Regions from separate parts of the Homo sapiens genome. Here region 1 is linked to region 2. Evidence: promoter capture Hi-C in human tissues and cell types (Jung and others, 2019). All regions are on one chromosome and are shown on one strand. Each heading gives the region's core, a stretch centred on a gene start or on the middle of the fragment in contact. The rest is flanking DNA. Distances are from core to core; before and after follow the strand shown.

Evidence for each region. The method cuts DNA at HindIII sites, captures the fragments that hold promoters and counts their contacts. A contact is called where the count stands out against the background at its distance.
Region 1: a contact is called between the fragment with the promoter of DBNDD2 here and the fragment with the promoter of WFDC8 in region 2, in 2 of the 25 tissues and cell types used here (mesendoderm cells and neural progenitor cells).

What each region holds. Positions count from the first base shown.
Region 1 is chr20:45,405,319-45,410,608 of GRCh38, forward strand. It overlaps DBNDD2 (dysbindin domain containing 2), which reads left to right and starts at 2,971. Exons shown (of 3, transcript NM_001048225.4): 1 at 2,971-3,288; 2 at 3,483-3,620; 3 at 4,614-5,289. The coding sequence starts at 3,150. The coding sequence ends at 4,822. SYS1-DBNDD2 (SYS1-DBNDD2 readthrough (NMD candidate)) reads left to right here. Exons shown (of 6, transcript NR_003189.2): 4 at 3,142-3,288; 5 at 3,483-3,620; 6 at 4,614-5,290. It overlaps LOC107985404 (a long non-coding RNA gene), which reads right to left and starts at 2,571. Exons shown (of 5, transcript XR_007067608.1): 1 at 2,431-2,571; 2 at 796-1,114; 3 at 399-502. LOC107985405 (a long non-coding RNA gene) reads right to left here. Exons shown (of 2, transcript XR_001754640.2): 2 at 5,257-5,290. RefSeq lists an enhancer at 1,559-2,108. The HindIII fragment of the contact is 23,713 bases long and covers 1-5,290 here.
Region 2 is chr20:45,575,989-45,581,098 of GRCh38, forward strand. WFDC8 (WAP four-disulfide core domain 8) reads right to left here and starts at 3,296. Exons shown (of 6, transcript NM_130896.3): 1 at 3,234-3,296. The coding sequence starts at 3,259. RefSeq lists an enhancer at 2,111-3,046. The HindIII fragment of the contact is 18,093 bases long and covers 1-5,110 here.

The DNA of each region.
Region 1 (5,290 bases), core at 1,721-4,220, 170 kb before region 2:
CAGGAAGCGGAGCTTGCAGTGAGCCGAGATTGCGCCATTGCAGTCCGCAGTCCGGCCTGGGCAACAGAGCGAGACTCCGTCTCAAAAAAAAAAAAAAAAAGAAAAGAAAACCAGATAGAAGGTTACTGCATTAGGAGCCCAGGCGGGAGGTGGTGGGGCAAACGGAAGGAATGGTGGACTGGAAAGATATTTAGGAAAGAGAATCGACAGGAAATGGAGGTGTATTTTAATATAGGCAGCGAGGGAGAGGGAGGTGGCAAGGATGACTCCTAGTTCCTGACTTGCTCGCGGATGTTTGTCGAATGAATGATCCAGTGACCCCAAGGCAGAAGTATCTCAGAGAGATCCCCCCACTCCCCTCCCCGCACCCGTCACCACGCTGCCTTCGGAGCTCTGACCGTAAGGGGGTGGATGGAAGGCAGGAGGAAGGGAATGGCCACGGAGTCTTGGTCCAGGAGCTGCTAGACTGGACACTTCTAGCACTGGTCTGAGCCAGGAGACGCTGCGAAAAGAGGGCAAACGTTTCTCCTCTCGCAGTTGCCGCCTCGCCCCTCCACCCCCGCCTGGCCAGCAGCGCAGCGCCCCTCTTAGCACCGTGGAGGTGCTGGCTCCTTGCCGGCGTCGGGGGGCGCGGCGTAGCGGCCCACCCTTCCAGCTCTGACCCGCCCGGCCGGCCCGGCGCCCACCCCGCCCAGTGTGCTTGGTAGGTTGGGCGGCGGCTCTGTCTAGTCCCAGAGCCAGGAATCAGGGGCAGCCGGGCGAGTCCCAGGGCAGGGGTCCTCCGCCGCCTTGCACCTGCCCTGCTGGGCGGCACCGGGTCAGTGCCCTGCCCCCTCCTGCGGGTCCCAACTCTCTCTTTCCCATCGTGCGTCCTCTGGAGAAGTGCGCGCGTGTAAGTGTGGCGAGTGTGGCCAAGGGTGCCGGAGGCAGGGTTCGGGTGCGTAGTCGTTGCGTGGGCGCTGCCCAAAAGGCGCAGAGCATCAAGTGTGCGTGGGCAGAACCGGCGCGGGCGCCCGCCGCGGGTCTGCGCGGGGCGGGGGCGCAGCAAGTGCATCCGAGCGAGCGGAGACTAGCGCACCGGCGTCGGTGGCGAGGGTGGTGCAGAGGAGTCCGGCTGGGCGGAGGGAGGAAGGATGGGTGCGGGTAACTTTTTGACCGCCTTGGAAGTACCAGTAGCCGCGCTCGCAGGGGCTGCCTCCGACCGCCGGGCGAGCTGCGAGCGAGTGAGCCCGCCACCGCCCCTCCCCCACTTCCGCCTCCCGCCTCTTCCTCGTTCCCGGCTCCCAGGGCCCGTCGGTCCCCCGGGAGCCCTGGAGGCGCAGCCCCACCCCGGCCGGCGCGGCTCGCTCCCACGCCCCCGCCGCGGCCTCGCTGGAGCGGACGGACTGAGTCAGAGGGGGCGCCAGCGCTGCAGGTAGGGGCTCCGGCGGCGGTGGGCGCAGGTGCCGCGGTGGACCGCGGAGGGGACCGGAGCACGAGGGGAACGGCCTTGGGGGAGCGCCCTCCCCCCGTCCTCCGCCGACGCCTCGTGTCCCTTTTTAGGGAATTTTTTCCCTCTTGCTGGCTCCAGTGCGGGTGGGGCTGAGACCGAGAGGGAGTTCTCCATTTCGCTGGCTCCTGCCCGGCCCCTGGCAGCCTCCTGCCCCCAAATCTCTTCACCCCCTTTCCAGTACCTATAGGTCGCGTAAACAACTCCCTTTCTCCAGCTCTGGGCTCCGCGGCCCCCCGGGGGACAGCTCCTTCAGTCTCGTGAGATCGGTGGGGTTAGGGGGAGGGGAAAAGAGAGGGGGTGTCCCAGAGCCCCTGGCCCCCGTCAGCTCCCCCACCTTGGCCTCTCCCTCCCCCTCCTCGCTGCTGGAGCACAGGCTCCAGGGGCCCTGGGTATTTTTAGCGTTGTGACCTGGGCGGCAGCTCTAAGAGCCTTTCCCGGGAATCGGCGTCAGCGCCTCGCTCCTCCGCCGCCAGCCCGCGGCCGCACGGTCTCCCCAGACTTCCGTGGCCCTGCCTTGGCCAGTCGGGGTTGGGTCCCTCTCCACCTCTGTGGCGCCCGTGGAGCTGGCCAGGGTCTGGGATACGCTGGGTGCAGATGAGGTGGGGAAGGCAGTCTGCGGAGGATGACGTCTGATCCTCAAGCTAGAAACTCCCTTGCCTCTGGTGATGGGCTCAGAGCAGAACGCCGGGAAGGAGATGAGCGAATGGGAATGAATGCACCGACCTGGGCTGGCCCATAGCCTCAGTGCTCTGGCAGGGTCTCAGCTTCTCAGCCCTAGGGGTCAGGAGGCCTGCTCTGAACTGGACCCAGAACCCGCCTTTCCAATTGCTCCTCACTGACTAATGGGGAGATAAGTCAGTGAGATGTGTCCCAGGAGGGGGACGCATAAAGAGCTGTTGGAGTTCAAAGGAAAGATGGTAGTCTCCTAAATAGCTCACCTTCACAAGCAGGGTCTTGTATTTGAGGCAGGTAGGTTGGTTATGCCATTTTCAGATGGGGAGACTAAGACCAGAAAGGTGATTTCCTTAGGGGCAGAGCCTAGTCTGGAAGTCAGGCCTGTGACTTCAGAGCAAGGGTTTGGGGTAGATGGCACATGCGTGTGTACGTGTTTGTGTGGGTGGAGAGAAAAGGAGGGGCGCGGGAGGAGTTGCTTTAGCCTTTGTCTGGGTTTTGAAGGATGGGAAGGGGTGGGCTGCAGCACTGGAGGAAGGGAACCCTCCACCCTGAGATCTCTGTCTCTATCCTATCCTGTCCCTGGCCTTCTGAGGCAAGCGGGGCCAATTAAGGGGAAAACGTACCTCCTCCATTTGTGCTGAACCAATCCCTCCAACCCCTCTCAGGAGGGCATGATATGGAGAGTTGGGCATTGGCTGTGTTCCCTGAATACAGAGTATCTCTCTTGTGGTGCCTGGAACTGGCATCCCCTTTGTGGAGCTTAGGGCAAGCCCCGCCTCTGCATGAGACTTGGTTTGTGGGACACACTTGGTTTCAGGGAAGGGGAAAGAGGTCACCAAGGGCAGAGGTGTCCAGGCCGGAGCCAGGGGCCCCACTGTTGGGATGCTGGCTGCAGTGGGGCGCCCCAAGCCCAGGTCCCCTCTGTCTTCTCTTTCGACTTTGCAGCTGTACTTGTTTTGCTCCTCTACCCGCAGGAGCTGACATGGACCCAAATCCTCGGGCCGCCCTGGAGCGCCAGCAGCTCCGCCTTCGGGAGCGGCAAAAATTCTTCGAGGACATTTTACAGCCAGAGACAGAGTTTGTCTTTCCTCTGTCCCATCTGCATCTCGAGTCGCAGAGACGTAAGTCCCAAGTCCTGAGAAGAGGGACTGGGGTAGGGTAGGGAGGATGTCCTGTGGGTCCTGAATCTTGTGGCACTCTCTCCCCTCTGGTTTTCTTGGCCCTCTATGCTTCTAACTTGGGACCTGACATGTAACTCTCACTGTCCTGGTGTGCAGCTTGGGTCCTCCTGACTTGCCCACTTCTTGATCCGCAGCCCCCATAGGTAGTATCTCATCCATGGAAGTGAATGTGGACACACTGGAGCAAGTAGAACTTATTGACCTTGGGGACCCGGATGCAGCAGATGTGTTCTTGCCTTGCGAAGATCCTCCACCAACCCCCCAGTCGTCTGGTATGCCCCTCTGCTTTGGGGACTTCAGTGCCAGTCAGCCAGAGCCGGATGTCAGGCTCTGAAACGAGGCTACAAGGCTGGGCTGGGGAAGTACACAAGTAAGGGCTGGAAGTGGGTGTTTCTACCAATGAAACAGCTGCCTGTTCTGATTTTAGGGAAGTTGACCCTGAGGGAGAACTGGGTTACACATCTCTAATCCAAAATTCTGGGAACGGTCAATCTCTTCTTTAATTTTACATTTGTTATATTAATATAATTAGTCACTATAATTAAAATAATGTAAAATTGTAATTTTTATATTTGGCAACTTAAGTAGTTTTAGTCATTATAATGATATTAATATGTATTGAGTACTTTAGTAGGTTCCAATACTGTACTAAAGTACTTTACATATATTATCTCAATCCTTACAACGTCCTGTCAGGGTAGGTGATATAATCTCTATTTTATAAGCAGGAAATTAGGCTCAGAGAAGTTAAGTCACATTGTAGCCAGAAGGTAGATAAACTGGAATTCATGTCTGTCTGACTCCAAAGCCCATATGCTTAACTTGTAAGATAGATATTCTTTTAATTAAAACTGCTACTATTTATTGATGGCTTACTATGCCAGACATTTTATAAGCATTCTTAGGTTTTATTCCCAAAACCCTTTGGGGATGTAGGTATCCCTTTTATTTTGCAGAGGAGGAACAGAGTCCTTGAAAGGGAAAGTGACTTGCTCAAAGCCACTCAGCAGCAATAAGTGATGTAGGTGGAACTTGAACTCTTGCCATTCATTGACCTGACTGTAGATCCCAGACATGGTGTAATGACGTGGAAGGAGCTGGCAGTCAGGAGATGGTGATCTTAATCCTGGCTCTTTGCTGGATTGGCAAAGTCACTTTGGACAAGTCTCTGCCCCACTGTGGACTTTAGTTACTCCTGGCCAGATAATCTTTAAGAGTTCTCTGAAGCCCTGTTTGTGGCCTGACCAGCTTTTCTCTCTGGGCAGGGATGGACAACCATTTGGAGGAGCTGAGCCTGCCGGTGCCTACATCAGACAGGACCACATCTAGGACCTCCTCCTCCTCCTCCTCCGACTCCTCCACCAACCTGCATAGCCCAAATCCAAGTGATGATGGAGCAGATACGCCCTTGGCACAGTCGGATGAAGAGGAGGAAAGGGGTGATGGAGGGGCAGAGCCTGGAGCCTGCAGCTAGCAGTGGGCCCCTGCCTACAGACTGACCACGCTGGCTATTCTCCACATGAGACCACAGGCCCAGCCAGAGCCTGTCGGGAGAAGACCAGACTCTTTACTTGCAGTAGGCACCAGAGGTGGGAAGGATGGTGGGATTGTGTACCTTTCTAAGAATTAACCCTCTCCTGCTTTACTGCTAATTTTTTCCTGCTGCAACCCTCCCACCAGTTTTTGGCTTACTCCTGAGATATGATTTGCAAATGAGGAGAGAGAAGATGAGGTTGGACAAGATGCCACTGCTTTTCTTAGCACTCTTCCCTCCCCTAAACCATCCCGTAGTCTTCTAATACAGTCTCTCAGACAAGTGTCTCTAGATGGATGTGAACTCCTTAACTCATCAAGTAAGGTGGTACTCAAGCCATGCTGCCTCCTTACATCCTTTTTGGAACAGAGCACGGTATAAATAATAAACTAATAATAATATGCCAAC
Region 2 (5,110 bases), core at 2,046-4,545:
TGCCCTAAGTTCAGGCTGAGTAAGTAAGTAAATTAGTAAGCCTCGTCCAAAGATATTTTCTTCTAAATGCTGCCTAGTCAGATATCTACATTCTGATACCGGAGAAGGATTGTCTCTAAATATTGAGTACAGAACACTCCGTACATATCTCCATATTGTGCTGCTAAAATATTTTAAATCTTTTACATTTTTTGTCCTTTTGATCTGTCAATGATTGAGAAAGGTGTGTCAAGGGCCCTCAATACAGCCATAGATTTCTCAATTTATGCCTATAATGATGTCAATGTTTGCTTTAATATATCCTGATTTGATTGGTTTAGGTAAATACAAATGTATTCCTGGTGAACTGAGTCTTTTACCATTATCTAGCAAGCCATCCTTTATCCTTAAAGATAAAACTTCGTCTTAGAGTTTTCTTTTTTTTTTTCAGACAGTCTCTCACTGTCTTTCTCCCAGGGCGGAGCGCAGTGGCACGATCTTGGCTCACTCCAACCTCCCTCTCCTGGGTTCAAATGATTCTTGTGCCTCGGCCTCCCAAGGAGCTGGGATTATAGGCATGTGCCACCACACCTGTAATTTTTGTAATTTTAGTAGAGACGGGGTCTTTCCATGTTGCCTAGGCTGGTCTTGAACTCCTGGCCTCAAGCAATCTGCCTGCCTCGGCCTCCCAAAGTGTTGGGATTACAGGCGTGAGCCAATGTGCCCAGCCTTAGAGTTTTCTATTGCCTAATATTAATCAAACTATACTCTCTCTTCTTTGTTTGCATTTGCCTAGTCTTTTTTCCATTCTTTTGCGTTCAACCATTCTACTTATGTTTTAAGTTTATCCTTCAAATCGTGTAAATCTACATTGTAAAAATCCAGTCCAGAAATTATTACCTATTAATTGACATTTATGGGCACTAATGACATATTTGGATTCATTTCTACAATTTTATTACAAGTTATCTACTCTCAGTCCTCATTATTCAGATTCTGTACTTGCCAATTTGCCTACTTGCTGAAATTTATTTATTACCCAAAAATCAATACTCATGATGCTTTTGTGGTCATTCAGGGATATGTGCAGAATGGCAAAAAATTTGAGTCCCCCAACGTACACATTCCCAGCTGAAGTCAAACAAGGCAACGCTCTGCTTGTTTAAGCTCTTCTACTACTATAAACAAGCTTCCTTTTTGCAGTCTACTTAGTGTCACATTTTTCACATTTTTGTGCTTTTTGTTGGTGAGTTTGCTGTTTAAAATGGCTGCCAAGAATTACTAAAGTGCTGTCAAGTGTCCTAAGAGCAAGAGGCCTGCAATGTGCCTTACAAAGAAATTACTTGTGTCAGATAAGCTTGGTTCAGGCATGAGTTACAGGGCTTTCAGCCACAATTCAATGTTAATGAAACAATAATATATATTACATAAGGTGTCTTTTTTTTTTTTTGAGATGGAGTCTCACTCTGTCGCCAGGCTAGAGTACAGTAGTGCGATCTCGGCTCGCTGCAACCTCCGCCTTCTGGGTTCAAGTGATTCTCCTGCCTCAGACTCCCGAGTAGCTGGGATTACAGGCACCCACCACCACGTCCTGCTAATTTTTTGTATTTTTAGTAGAGATGAGGTTTCACTGTGTTGGCCAGGATGGTCTCAATCTCCTGACCTAGTGATCCGCCTGCCTCAGCCTCCCAAAGTGCTGGGATTACAGGCATGAGCCACCGCGCCTGGCCTATATACATGTTTAAAAAATAAAGACAGGGCCAGCACGGTGGCTCATGCCTGTAATCCCAGCACTTTGGGAGGCTGAGGCAGGCAGATCACCTGTGGTCAGGAGTTCAAGACTAGCCTGGCCAACACGGTGAAACCCTGTCTCTACTAAAAATACAAAAATTAGCCTGGAGTGGTGGTGCACACCTGTAGTCCCAGCTACTCAGGAGGCTAAGGCAGGAGGATCCCTTGAACCCAGAAGGTGGAGGTTGCAGAGAGCCGAGATCACACCACTATGCTCCAGCCTGGGGGACAGAGAGAGATTCCCTCTCAAACAAAACAAAAAAAATAAAAATAAAAATAAATAAATAAATAAAGTATGTAGAGTTTTATTTAATAATTAACCACACAGATTAAAAAATAGAAAGTAGCCAGCTTCCCAGAAGTCTTCTGTGTGCACCTTCTAATTACCATCTCTGTCATGTGTCTTCAGACAGAAGCACATATAAAAACAAGGTTATGTATTGATCAAATGATGAAAATGTGTGGTCAGAGGCTTGCATTTTCCCTAGGAGCAATGGCTCAGTATTTGCTAATCCGGTGTTCACAGTGACTTTACAGAACATAACTACCCCCAAGTAATGGGAATCAACTGTATTTTTATTACTTTGGTGTACAAAGAACTTTGAGCTCTCCATGGCTTGCCACAACAAAAGACTTCCTAGGCAAATTGTCTACTGCTTTGTTCCAAGTGGGGGCTCTACTTGAGGCTGTGGGACCAAGACAAAAGAAGCAGCCTCTATGTGGATTAGGCCCCTTCTCCTGGCAGAGAGAAAGCACAAAGGAGCTGGCAGAAACTCACAGTGCAAAACTCACTATGCATATGCTACATCTGCTCATACTCCAATAGGCAAAGCACAGCTGACAGCAAACCCAAAGTCAATGAGACAGAAATGTGTCTTCCTTCCACGGGCCGTTCTAAAATTGCAAGGTAATGGACAGGAGTGTCCTCTTAAAGGAAAGATGGAATGAATAGTTGTGAATAATAATATAACCCATCACTACTACTCCTGTTTTAATTTTTTGAAAATGTTTAGATACATATTATATGCTTGTTTAATTTAAAATATCAAACTTTACCTTGCTCAGGCTCTGCCCCTCCACACTGGGCCACTCAAAGATGCCCAACTTACCCTACTTGGGCTCCAACAGCCATATCAGGTTGCATTCGAGACCAGCCTGGCCAACATGGTGAAACCCCGTCTCTACTAAAAATGCAAAACTTAGCCGAGCGTGGTGGCGCACACCTGTAGTCCCAGCTACTAGGGAGGCTAAGGCAGGAGAATCGCTGGATGCATTGATGCCCTCTTCACCCTGCTTAGGCTCTGATTCCTGACACAAGACAGCTCTGTTCTGTGGAACCCCTCCTCACTATGCTTGGCCCAACTCCCCACAGCCGACCACTCTAACTTCTATGTATCCTCCTCATCTCCTTGGGCTCAGACCCTCCATGTCTGGCTACCCACCCCCATAGACACCCTCCTCACCCTCCTTCAGTTCGGACAGTCCACATCAGGCCTCTTCCCTATGGAGACAGCTTCCTCACTTTGCTCCAGCTCTAAGGCTCCTCCCTCATCTGCTCCCCTGCCTGGACACTCTGCTCACCCCACTCAGGCTCTCATTCTATGCCAGTCTGCCCCTCTAGCCCCAGGGGGATGCCTTTCTCAACATGGGCAGGCTGGTCTCCATGCTATGCTGCTTCTTGCCTCTTCACTGGGCATTCTCATCTACCCCTGGCTCCAGCACACCAGGCCAGCAGCCCTCCTACAGAGACACCCTCCTTGACCTGTTCCAGCTCTGATGCCCACACGGAGCCAGCCGTGGCTCCCTTCCCCTTGGGGCAAACGCCTACCTTGCTAAATGTGCCTATCTAATGGCTTTAGGACTGACTAGTTCAGTTAGTAAAGAAAAGGAGACAAAACAAGGAAGAGCTACTTTTCCTTTTTGTAAAAATATGTATTGTGAAAAACACCACAAAAATAAAAATATGCATGAAACATTAATGTTCAGTCTAACGAACTATTACGAAGTGACCACTCATTAAACTATCACTGAAATCAAGTAAAAAATTTCCAACACTTTCTGCTCCTTTTTCATTCTTTTCCAGTCACAACCCCTTCCTATGCTCTCAAAGGCAGCTAATGGTAGTGACTTTCTTTTTCATATTTTCAAGATCATATGTATTCCCCTAAATATGTTTTTGTTTTTGTCTGCTTCTGTTCTATATCAATGGAGTCACTTGGAATGTATTCTTTTGTGCCTGGCTTTTTGTGTTCAACATTATATTAATGAATTCCATCCACATTGTTTTGTGTAGCTGTATTTTGTCAATTTTCATTGCCATGCCATCTATTGTATGACTACACACATCTCTACTGAGTTGTTTATAGTTTGCAGCTGTTAAGAATAAAGCTGCTGTGTGTATACATAGCATGTATGTAATAACGTTCTGCACGTGTATCCCAGAACTTAAAGTATAATAAAAAACTAGGATTTTCTAAATAAAAATGTTATTTATATCAACATGTAATAAGTTTATTACGTTAAATGAATTAATAAATGTTTTTAAATGTCAAAAAAATTTTAAACAATTTACTCATGTAAAAAAAAGAATAAAGCTGCTATGAACACTCTGTGTGCATTTGCTGGAGCACGTGGGCAGGTGTTCTTGTAGGTTATACATTCAGCATAGGGAATGATGGGTTACAGGGTATGCATATCTTCAGCTTCTCAAGCTGATACCAAATTATTTCCCAAAGAGTTTGTACCAATTCACAGCCTTGCCATTGGTAGTTGAGAGTTCCTATTGTTCCATAACCATGCTGTATGTAGAACTGTCACAATCTTTTCATTTTTACCATCCTGCTACGAGTATGGAAATACATCACTGTGGACTTAATTTAAATTTCTTGACTACTAATGAGGTTGAGCACCTTTTTAGATCTTTATTAACCACTTGGCTATCCTCTCTTTGATTTTCTTTTCAAATGTTTTGCTCATTGTTCTCTGGGGTTTTCTGACTTTTTCTTGCTGATTTCTACTGGAGTCATGTCTTTCCTCAGTTATATGTATTATGAACATCTTCCAGGATCAAGGGTAATCTTCTAAAACCCTTATTGGCTTGTCTTTTACCTTTTGAATGAAAGTTTTTATCACGTGCCCTTCCTACCCCAAAGACAGAATCAGGAATCCTTTTTCTATGTTCCTTTCCTACAATACAATAACTCGCTACAATACAATACAGTAACTCCAATATCTGAAGTCTTTGTGGACCTCTGCTGTTGGTTGTTTTTCTTGATTTTTTTCATCTTGTTTTCTTAAGATCTGTGTGATTTTTTTTATTGTGAGAGTACATATTTAATGG